3 separate regions of the Homo sapiens genome follow, and all the other regions are linked to region 1. Evidence: promoter capture Hi-C in 16 types of primary human blood cells and fetal thymus (Javierre and others, 2016). All regions are on one chromosome and are shown on one strand. The core of a region is centred on a gene start or on the middle of the fragment in contact, and the rest is flanking DNA. Distances in the headings are between cores, read along the strand shown.

Region 1 (2,700 bases), core at 168-2,667:
CCTGCAATGCATTAGAAACCTCTAACTCCCAGCCAGGTGCGGTGGCTCACGCCTGTAATCCCAGCACTTTGGGAGATCGAAACGGGCAGATCACCTGAGGTCAGGAGTTCCAGACCAGCCTGGCCAACATGGTGAAACCCCGTCTCTACTGAAAATACAAAAAAGTTAGTCGGGTGTGGTGGCATGTGCCTGTAGTCCCAGCTACTTGGGAGGCTGAGGCAGGAGAATGGCGTGGACCTGGGAGGCGGAGCTTGCAGTGAGCCGAGATCCCGCCACTGCACTCCAGCCTGGGCGACAGAGCGAGACTTCATCTCAAAAAAACAAAACAACAACAACAAACAACAACAACAAAACAACTTCTAACTCCTATCTCAAGGATGGGGGAAACCGAGGCCCAGAGAGCGTCAAATCGCTGTTCAGAGCCAGGAAGCAGCACAGAAGCCTCAGAAGAGGGGGCCCAGGGTCTGCCTGAATGGGGCCAGGAGGTTGAGGTGAGGATGAGAGGGGGAGGAGCGGGGGGAACCGAGCAAGCCCCGCCCCCATACCTGCCAGGAATGTGACCAGCAACGCAGCCCACAGAACCTTCATCTTCCTGCCTGTGATTGGCCAGTCTGGGGAAGGAGAAACTGTCAATCAACCGCCAGTGAGGACTCCTCCCACCCCCAGCCCGGCCCCAACCCGGCCTCACCCCAGGTTAGCCTTCCAAGCCTTGTTGCATTATCTGCAACAGCCTAATCCCAGCACATTTACCAAGCCGCCCCCAACCCATTCCCTATTTAACTCCCTCCTGGTCTTCTCTTATCTCCCCATCCCCAGGTCGGCCTCCATAGAAAATTCCATCTTCCTCTCCCGGGGTTCAAATTCCATCCCCCCACCCCCTCCCCACCGCCGGTTCCATCTCAGTCCCAGTCTCGCATTCCTCATTCTCCCTTCACATTCTAAGCTCCAACCTCACAGTTAAGCGCCGTGTTCCATTTATGAGCTAATTCAGTCCTCATTTTAAAGTTCTCCAATCGACGGCTAGCTACCGTGTCGCTGCCCCTGGCTCCCCAGTTATGGAGATCTGAGGACACTGGGGACACCCAGTAGGTGCTCGATAAATGATAGTGACAACTCGTGGAGTCCTGCTATGGCTTACATCCCAGTCCAGCTGCTCTCCCCACCCCACCTTCTAGCGGGTCGGGTCGTCTCTGCTGCCCAGCCCTTCCCAGGTCCAGTCCCCTGCTGCTTGCCTCACCCCCGCTCCTCCTCTCCCCAAGCCCGACCCCGAGTAGCTCTCCTGAGACTACCTGGAGGCCAGGGGTTCCCAGGGTCCCAGCTCTTTCTAGAGGCCCCTGAGCTCATCCCCGTGCCCCCGACTGCGCTTCTCACCGGCTCCTGGGGAAGGACGTCCTTCACCTCCGCTGGGGCTGAGTAGGACTCAAGGATCCCAGACTTGTCCAATTATAGGGCTCCCCCTGTCCCGCCCCCTCCCCCAGGGATAGGGCGGGCTGGGCCAGCCCCCAGTCACGAGGTGGGCTGTTCTCCCCCTGCCCCAGGCACAGCAGGGCAGAGGGAGGAAGGAGGTGGGGCATAGAGGTCTTTTGACCACCCCCCACAGTCCCCAGGAAGGGAGGACACCTCGCCCAGTAATACAGACACCCTCCTCCATTCTGGGGGCCAAGCGTGGAAGGGGAATGTGGAGGCTGCCGCCCAGAGTCCTCCTTTCCTGACCCTGTCCTTTCCTGTGCCTGGATGAATGTAATCTGGAGAGGGGGCTGGGGATCTGGACTCCTGGATCCCAGAAAGAAAGTAGGGCTAGGGGGCTGGACAGAAGTGGGATGGGAGGGGCTGGGGGCGGTAGCTCACGCCTGTAATCCCAGCACTTTGGGAGGCCACAGTGGGCGAATCACTTAAGGTCAGGAGTTTGAGACCAGCCTGGCCAACATGGTGAAACCCCATCTCTACTAAAAATACAAAAGTTAGCCAGGCGTGGTGGCGGGCGCCTGTAATCCTAGCTACTTGGGAGGCTGAGGCAGGAGAATCGCTTGAACCCGGGAGGCGGAGGTTACAGTGAGCCGAGATCTCGCCACTGCACTCCAGCCTCAGCAAGAGGGAGACTGTCTCAAAAAAAGAAAAAAAAGAAAGTGGGGCTAGGCGGCTGGACAGAAGTGGGATGGGAGGGGTGGGAACAGTATGATGCACCTGCTAAAAGTCGAGGCTTTGCAAATGGGACCTGGGTTTTAATCACAGCTTCCTCTTTGGTTGTGACCTTGAGCACAGGGGAGCCCCCTCCCCACATGTGAAATGAGATTCCAGCACCTCCCCCTGGCTGCCACAGGTATTGTGGTTTCCAGGGGCTTGAAGCCGTGCTTCTGGGTTAAGGTTAGGATTCTGGAGTCAAATTGCCAGGGCGTGAATCCTGGCTCTGCCAGTTGCCAGCTGTGTGACCTTGGGCAAATGACTTGTCCTCTCTGAGCATCAAGTTCCTTTGCTCATCAGACTGGGAAAGCAGCGGCACGGGTATGTTTGGTGACAAGCTAACGTGTATTGAGCATGGAGGACAGCCCTGGCACACAGCGGTCCTATGTTAGGGCTAGCAATGGACAGGCCACAGTGAACGCTCAGACGCTGTCACTTTCCTAAGCCCTGTTATAAATCCCAGATGTTTCAGAGGAGAAACCCGTGGTTCAGCAGCAAGACGAATGGCAAAACCACACA
Region 2 (2,700 bases), core at 201-2,700, 240 kb after region 1:
CCTACACTCAGGTGTTAACATGAGCTAAATGACAGTGTGCATTGGCCAGGCACGGTGGCTTATGCCTATAAATCCCAGTACTTTAGGAGGCCAAGGCGGGAGGATTGTTTGGGCCCAGGAATTTGAGACCAGCCTGGGCAAGATGGCAAGATTCCTTTCTCTAAAATAAAAAAAAAAAAAAGTAAAATAAATGACAGTGTGTAAAGTTATTCACTACAACATTGTAATAGTGAAAGGCTGGAAAGGATACAAATGCCTGTCCTTAGAGGCCTCGTTAAAAAAGCCCTGTACAGCCCTCCCATGGAATATGAGGTGGGTGTAGAACAACTCAGGAGGCATTCTCTGAATTACCAGAAACTGAGCAAAAAAAGTAAGGTTCAGGGTGGGCGCGGTGGCTCACATCTGTAATCCTAGCGCTTTGGGAGGCCAAGGCAGGAGGAGCACTTGAGCCCAGGAGTTCCAGCCCAGCCTAGGCAACATAGCGAGATGCCTATCTCTACAAAAGTTAAAAAGAGATTTAGCCAGGTGGGGTGGCGCCCACCTATAGTCCCAGCTACTCGGGAGGCTGAGATGGAAGGATAGCCCGAGCCCAGCAGGTCGAGGCTGCAATGAGCCATGATCACGCCACTGCACTCCAGCCTGGGCAACAAAGTGAGACTCTTATTTCTAAAATAAATAAATAAATAAACAAATAAATAAATAAATAAAGTGCACTATTCAATGGTTTTTTGGTATAATTAATTTTCAAAAATGGTGGTTAAAAAGAGATAACAGACAATTTGCCATTTTAGCTATTTTTGAGTGTATGATTCAGTGGCATTCATTACATTCACAGTGTTGTGTAAAACTGGATATCCATGTGCAGAAGAATGGAGCTGGACCATTACACTCCAAACACAAATTAGAATGGATCCCTCATGTCTTTTTATCTTCTAATTTTGGGACGTTTATGTACTATCTAATTAAAAAAATTAGCTTAGCATGGTGAGGGGCAGCTGTGGTCACAGCTACTTGGTAGGCTGAGGTGGGAGGATTGCTTGAGCCCCGGAGTTAGAGGCTGCAATGAGCTATGATCGTGCCATTGCACTCCAGCCTGGGTGACAGGAGACACCGTCCCTTAAACATTTTTTTTGGAGAGGAAAAAAAAAAAGACAAGCTGTTCCTAAGGTGCCTGGGAATCCCAGCCCTTATGGCCCTCTTCATTTAGCGTCTTGCTTCCATGCCTCTGGTTCCATCCCACGTGGTGACAGTACACATGAAACCTGTCTGCTCCTTGATTTCCACAAAAGACCCCATTGCACACAGCCGCTGGAGGTACAATAAATAAGCTTTAATGAGATTCTGGGTGCTGGAGACAGACAAGGAGCTTACGTGCCACCAAAGCAACCAATGTTCCTTTATCTCCCCAACTCTGTGGGGTCCCACTGGCCTCCTCACCCTTGAGCCCTTTGCCCCTGCCATCCTGCTGGTTCCTATCTCTTCCCCACACTTCTCTGTTCCCGGCTCTTCCATCTCTGTCCAGAGCAAATCCTCTGTCCTGCTTATTTTCTCTTGCAGAGCAGCTCAAGCTTTGCATTCCCATTTAGCATCTTGGCCCAAGGTCTTCTCTCCCTCAACGTATTTTCCCAAACAGTTTTCTTTATAAGAGGAATTCTGCTGTCTGCCCTCAAGATCATAGACCTTTTTAACTTGTCAGTTGCACTGAGCAGCTGGGCCTCCTGGGTCTTGGGTCGCATCCATCTTGGTCCTATAGGAGCGTGTCCTGAGCAACTGCAGCGCTGCCTCCCCCTGCATCCCTTCCCCCTTGTGTTGGAAATTGCATTTGCTTCTTTTGTGGGTTATTTCCTGCCAGTCCCAGCTTGCTGGCTGCAGATGCTGGCAGAAAGTGGCTGCAGATGCTGGCAGAAAGTGGCTGCAGCTGACAACCTTCTTCAAGTTCACATCTAGTAGTTTTCTCTGCTCCTTGGACACCCCCCAGGCAGCTGCTTGCGGCCTGAATTGCAGCCTCTGGTGACCAGGGTCAGTGGCTGTTTCTTGTAACCACAGAGATCTGACGGATACAGAGATTTAGAAGCTCAAGGCCAGAGGCCAAATTTTTACCAAAATTCTCTGGTGGCCCACACCCTTCTGTGTGGTCTGCTATGCAGTAAAGGCTTAACCTTGCCCAAAGAAAGATCGGGCCCTTTATCCTCAGCTCCTGGGCATTCATCTCTAAGCCCTTGGAATATCCTGCCTGGTAGCTGATCTTGGAGTCTTGGGCCACTCTGGGTGGTTCATGCTAATGATGTGATTTATGGTGGGGGTCTTGGGCCACACGGTATTGGCTTGATGTATGAGGTCAGCCGTGTGGATGGTGAGCTGCTTAATTCAGCACTTTGGGAGGCCAAGGCAGAAGTATCACTTGGAGCCAAGAGTTCAAGACCAGCCTGGGCAACACAGGGAAACCTCGACTTTACAAATAATAAAAAGATTAGCCAGACGTGGTGGCACATACCTGTAGTCATAGCTACTCAGGAGGCTGAGGTGGGAGGATGACTTGGCGTTGAGAAGTCAAGGCTGCAATGAACTGTGATCTCACCACTGTACTCTAGTCTGCCAACAGAGCCAGACCCTGTCTCAAGACAAACAAAAAACTCTGGACACAAAGATCTCGAGTGAGCTGCTCTGGTTGGCAGTATTGGCAGTACTTCTTGCATGTTG
Region 3 (2,709 bases), core at 205-2,704, 260 kb before region 1:
CAGGCTCAGAGCTGCCCACCAAGGCTGGGGGTGAACCCCAAATGGGATGAGAAAGGGGCCCCTTGCTAAAGAACCTCCCCTGTAGAGTGGGGTCCAGTCACCCCGTCAGGCCCTGCCTGGGTCACCCCTTCCTATTCCACCTGGCTGAGTGTAGCTGTGTCCTGTGTCTGCCTCTGCAGTGCTGCCCGCCTGGCCCACTCCCCAAACGCCTGCTCCCCCTAGTGTCCAGCAGCCTCCTGGCCACTGTGCTCCCAGCCCGGGGCAATCTCGTCCTGCGGAGACGGCTCATTTACATTGGGCCACGCTTCATGATCGGGCCGGGGGTGTGGGGGGTTGGCACGGAGGCCCACTGCAGATGCCCACGCTCAGATGCCAGCCCCGCCTCCCTGGTGGGCCAGGGAGGAACCTTCCCAGAGCAACCGGCTTGAAGGGTGGGGGAGGAGACGGGGTCCCAGGTCGCAGGAAGGGCCCTGGCTCTGGCCGTAGGGAGCAGTGTTTGGTCACCTGGGCAGAACTCAGGGCTGGGTGGGTTCCCTTTATCTTGTCCTGGGCACTGTTCTGGGGCTGCCTCCCCCATCCCCATCGGAGCACCCCGTCTGTCAGGGAAGCAACTGTTGACCCCGTTACGCCAGCAGCCACAGGGAGCCGGGGCCCCAGAGAGCCGAGGGGCCTTCAGGGCATCTCCTGCCCAGCCTTACCCCGGCCCTCACCCCTCAGAGGGCATCTGTGGGGAGGCAGTCACTGAGTGCTGGCCCCGAGGGCAGGAGACAGAGCCTTGGCGAGCCTGGGAGTAGCAACCACTGACTGCTTCCAAATCCCCGCCCTGCCTCTGTGTGCCCTGGGGCCGAGGACTTCACTTCTCTGGGCCTCAGTGTCCTCATCTGTGAAGCGGGCATCACACCTGGCCCCCTGGGTGGTGGAGAGGAAGACGGGGCTATGGTGTAGCAAGCCTTGATGTGTGTGCTGTTGCCCTTGTCCTATGGACATCCATTTAGAACAGCGCCAGGTAAATGGGTCAGCACAGCCCCGGGTCAGGTGCGCCAGGCCCTGAGCTGAGGGGACTCCCACCCAGTGCCTCCCTCGCGACAGCCACGAGAGGCAGGTGCCCACTCAGCAATGAGGAAGCCATGGCTCGGAGAGTGAAGTCACCTGCCCAAGGTCACATACCTGGGCCACGGAGGAGCTGGCATCCCAGCTCCCTGTCCCCCCCACACCAGCAGAAGTGCCTGGGCCTGTGGCTGCCTTAAGGAGATTGAGGCAGTGCTGCGGGATGCATCTCCGTTCCTTACCAGGGATGGGGACACAAGACTGAGTCCAGTCGGAGTCCCAGTCCTCGAGAGCAGAGAGCACTGGGACAGGCAGGCGCTGGGGAAGGGGCGGGGACAGGCAGGCAAACCGGTCAGGCGGGCACTGGGCTGAGGCCTCCATCTGGATGGGCCTGCGCTGACAGTCCGGGCTGGTGTGGCAGCTGCTCGTGGGGCAGGCAGCTGGGGCCGTGAGGCCACCGTCAGGTACGAGTGGGACTGGGACTGGGGGTGGGGAGTGGTGGGCAGGCTACCAACTCTCAGCACCCCAGTTTCCTCTGCCCCTCAGCCTTTCCCTATCCCTGTCCCCCACACAGCATCCTTCCCTGTCCTGCTTTCGGCTCTTCACATTGGAAACGCGGTACACCCATCTTGCCCGAGTTTGCTGAGCCTCTCCCCAAATTGGACCACCGCGATTTCATTGCTCCCTCACAATTCCCCCTCCACCGTATCATTCAATGCCCACAGGTACCCAGCTCTGATTTTCACTCACCCTGCTTCTCATCTGCTCTCCAGCTCACCTCACTAGCTCCATGTCCTTCCAAAGCGTGCCAGCCTCCCACAGCGCCCACACCTTAATGACCCCTTGGTCACTCAGCCACCACACCGGACCCCCTATTTCCCCAGCCCATGTCTGCTCAGCACTCCCCAGTGTCCTAGCCTCTTGGAAACTCCCAGGAGCTTCCCAACACCCAGCCTCAAATTAACCCCTAGCCAACCCCAGCGGTTCTCCGTTCCCTCCTCTGGCCATCCCTCCTTATCCTGCCCCTCACTGTACCCTGAAGGCCACCTCTACCCCCTTCTCCCAAGTGACCTAGGAACCCAGCATCTGGGACTTGGCCTTTCCCCTGTCCAAGCTGTCGGGCAGGGCAGGGACCCTGACCTCAGCTCTCTGCTGTTCGTGCCCCAGAGGCTACGCCAAGCCTGTGTGCTCCCTCCTGCCTCAGGAGCAGGCCCCCAGCACCCAGCTGCCCGGCTGCCATGCACAAACATTACAAAGTCCACTTCGCCAAGGATGCCCAGAGCCCCAACGGGCACTACTTCTGGGACCCAGAGTTGGGGCACCGAAAAGGTACGGGTTCAGTTTGGGGGCGGGTGATGGCCGACAGAGGCCTGTGAGGAAGCCAGAGTGAATGGAGGAACAGAAGGGGAGCTGTCATCCCCAGGAGAGAAAAGCCACTTGCACTCCACCCAGAGGCATCTGTGTAGCAGCAGGGCCTGGGACCCAGGACCCGGACCACAGGGCCTGCGGGCCCAAAGATAGGAGCCTGGGCTGGAGTTGGAAGCAGGGGCCGCCTGGCCTGCCCTGCCCCGTTTCCAAACCCTGAGGCCTGTGTGGATGGCCTCCAGCCTGGAGGGGAGCAGTGTGCTGGGAGTGAGGGGTAGGAGAGGGAGCCCCCCCACT

What was found. Contacts are between HindIII fragments. The CHiCAGO score rates a contact against its expected background, and 5 or more counts as called.
Region 2: a contact is called between a fragment that was not itself captured here and the fragment with the promoter of APOE in region 1, in 1 of 17 cell types (naive B cells). The highest score is 5.6, in naive B cells.
Region 3: a contact is called between the fragment with the promoter of NKPD1 here and the fragment with the promoter of APOE in region 1, in 2 of 17 cell types (naive B cells and total B cells). The highest score is 7.7, in naive B cells.

What each region holds. Positions count from the first base shown.
Region 1 is chr19:44,904,513-44,907,212 of GRCh38, reverse strand. APOE (apolipoprotein E) reads right to left here and starts at 1,417. Exons shown (of 4, transcript NM_000041.4): 1 at 1,372-1,417; 2 at 546-611. The coding sequence starts at 588. RefSeq lists enhancers at 1-495, 1,298-2,100. The HindIII fragment of the contact is 10,718 bases long and covers 1-2,700 here.
Region 2 is chr19:44,662,193-44,664,892 of GRCh38, reverse strand. It overlaps PVR (PVR cell adhesion molecule), which reads right to left. Exons shown (of 8, transcript NM_006505.5): 8 at 1-2,700. Among named protein-coding and RNA genes, the nearest start is that of CEACAM19, 7.9 kb to the left of the region's middle. The HindIII fragment of the contact is 240 bases long and covers 1,331-1,570 here.
Region 3 is chr19:45,159,727-45,162,435 of GRCh38, reverse strand. NKPD1 (NTPase KAP family P-loop domain containing 1) reads left to right here and starts at 1,454. Exons shown (of 5, transcript NM_198478.4): 1 at 1,454-1,511; 2 at 2,215-2,376. The coding sequence starts at 2,286. RefSeq lists an enhancer at 1,172-1,804. The HindIII fragment of the contact is 37,147 bases long and covers 1-2,709 here.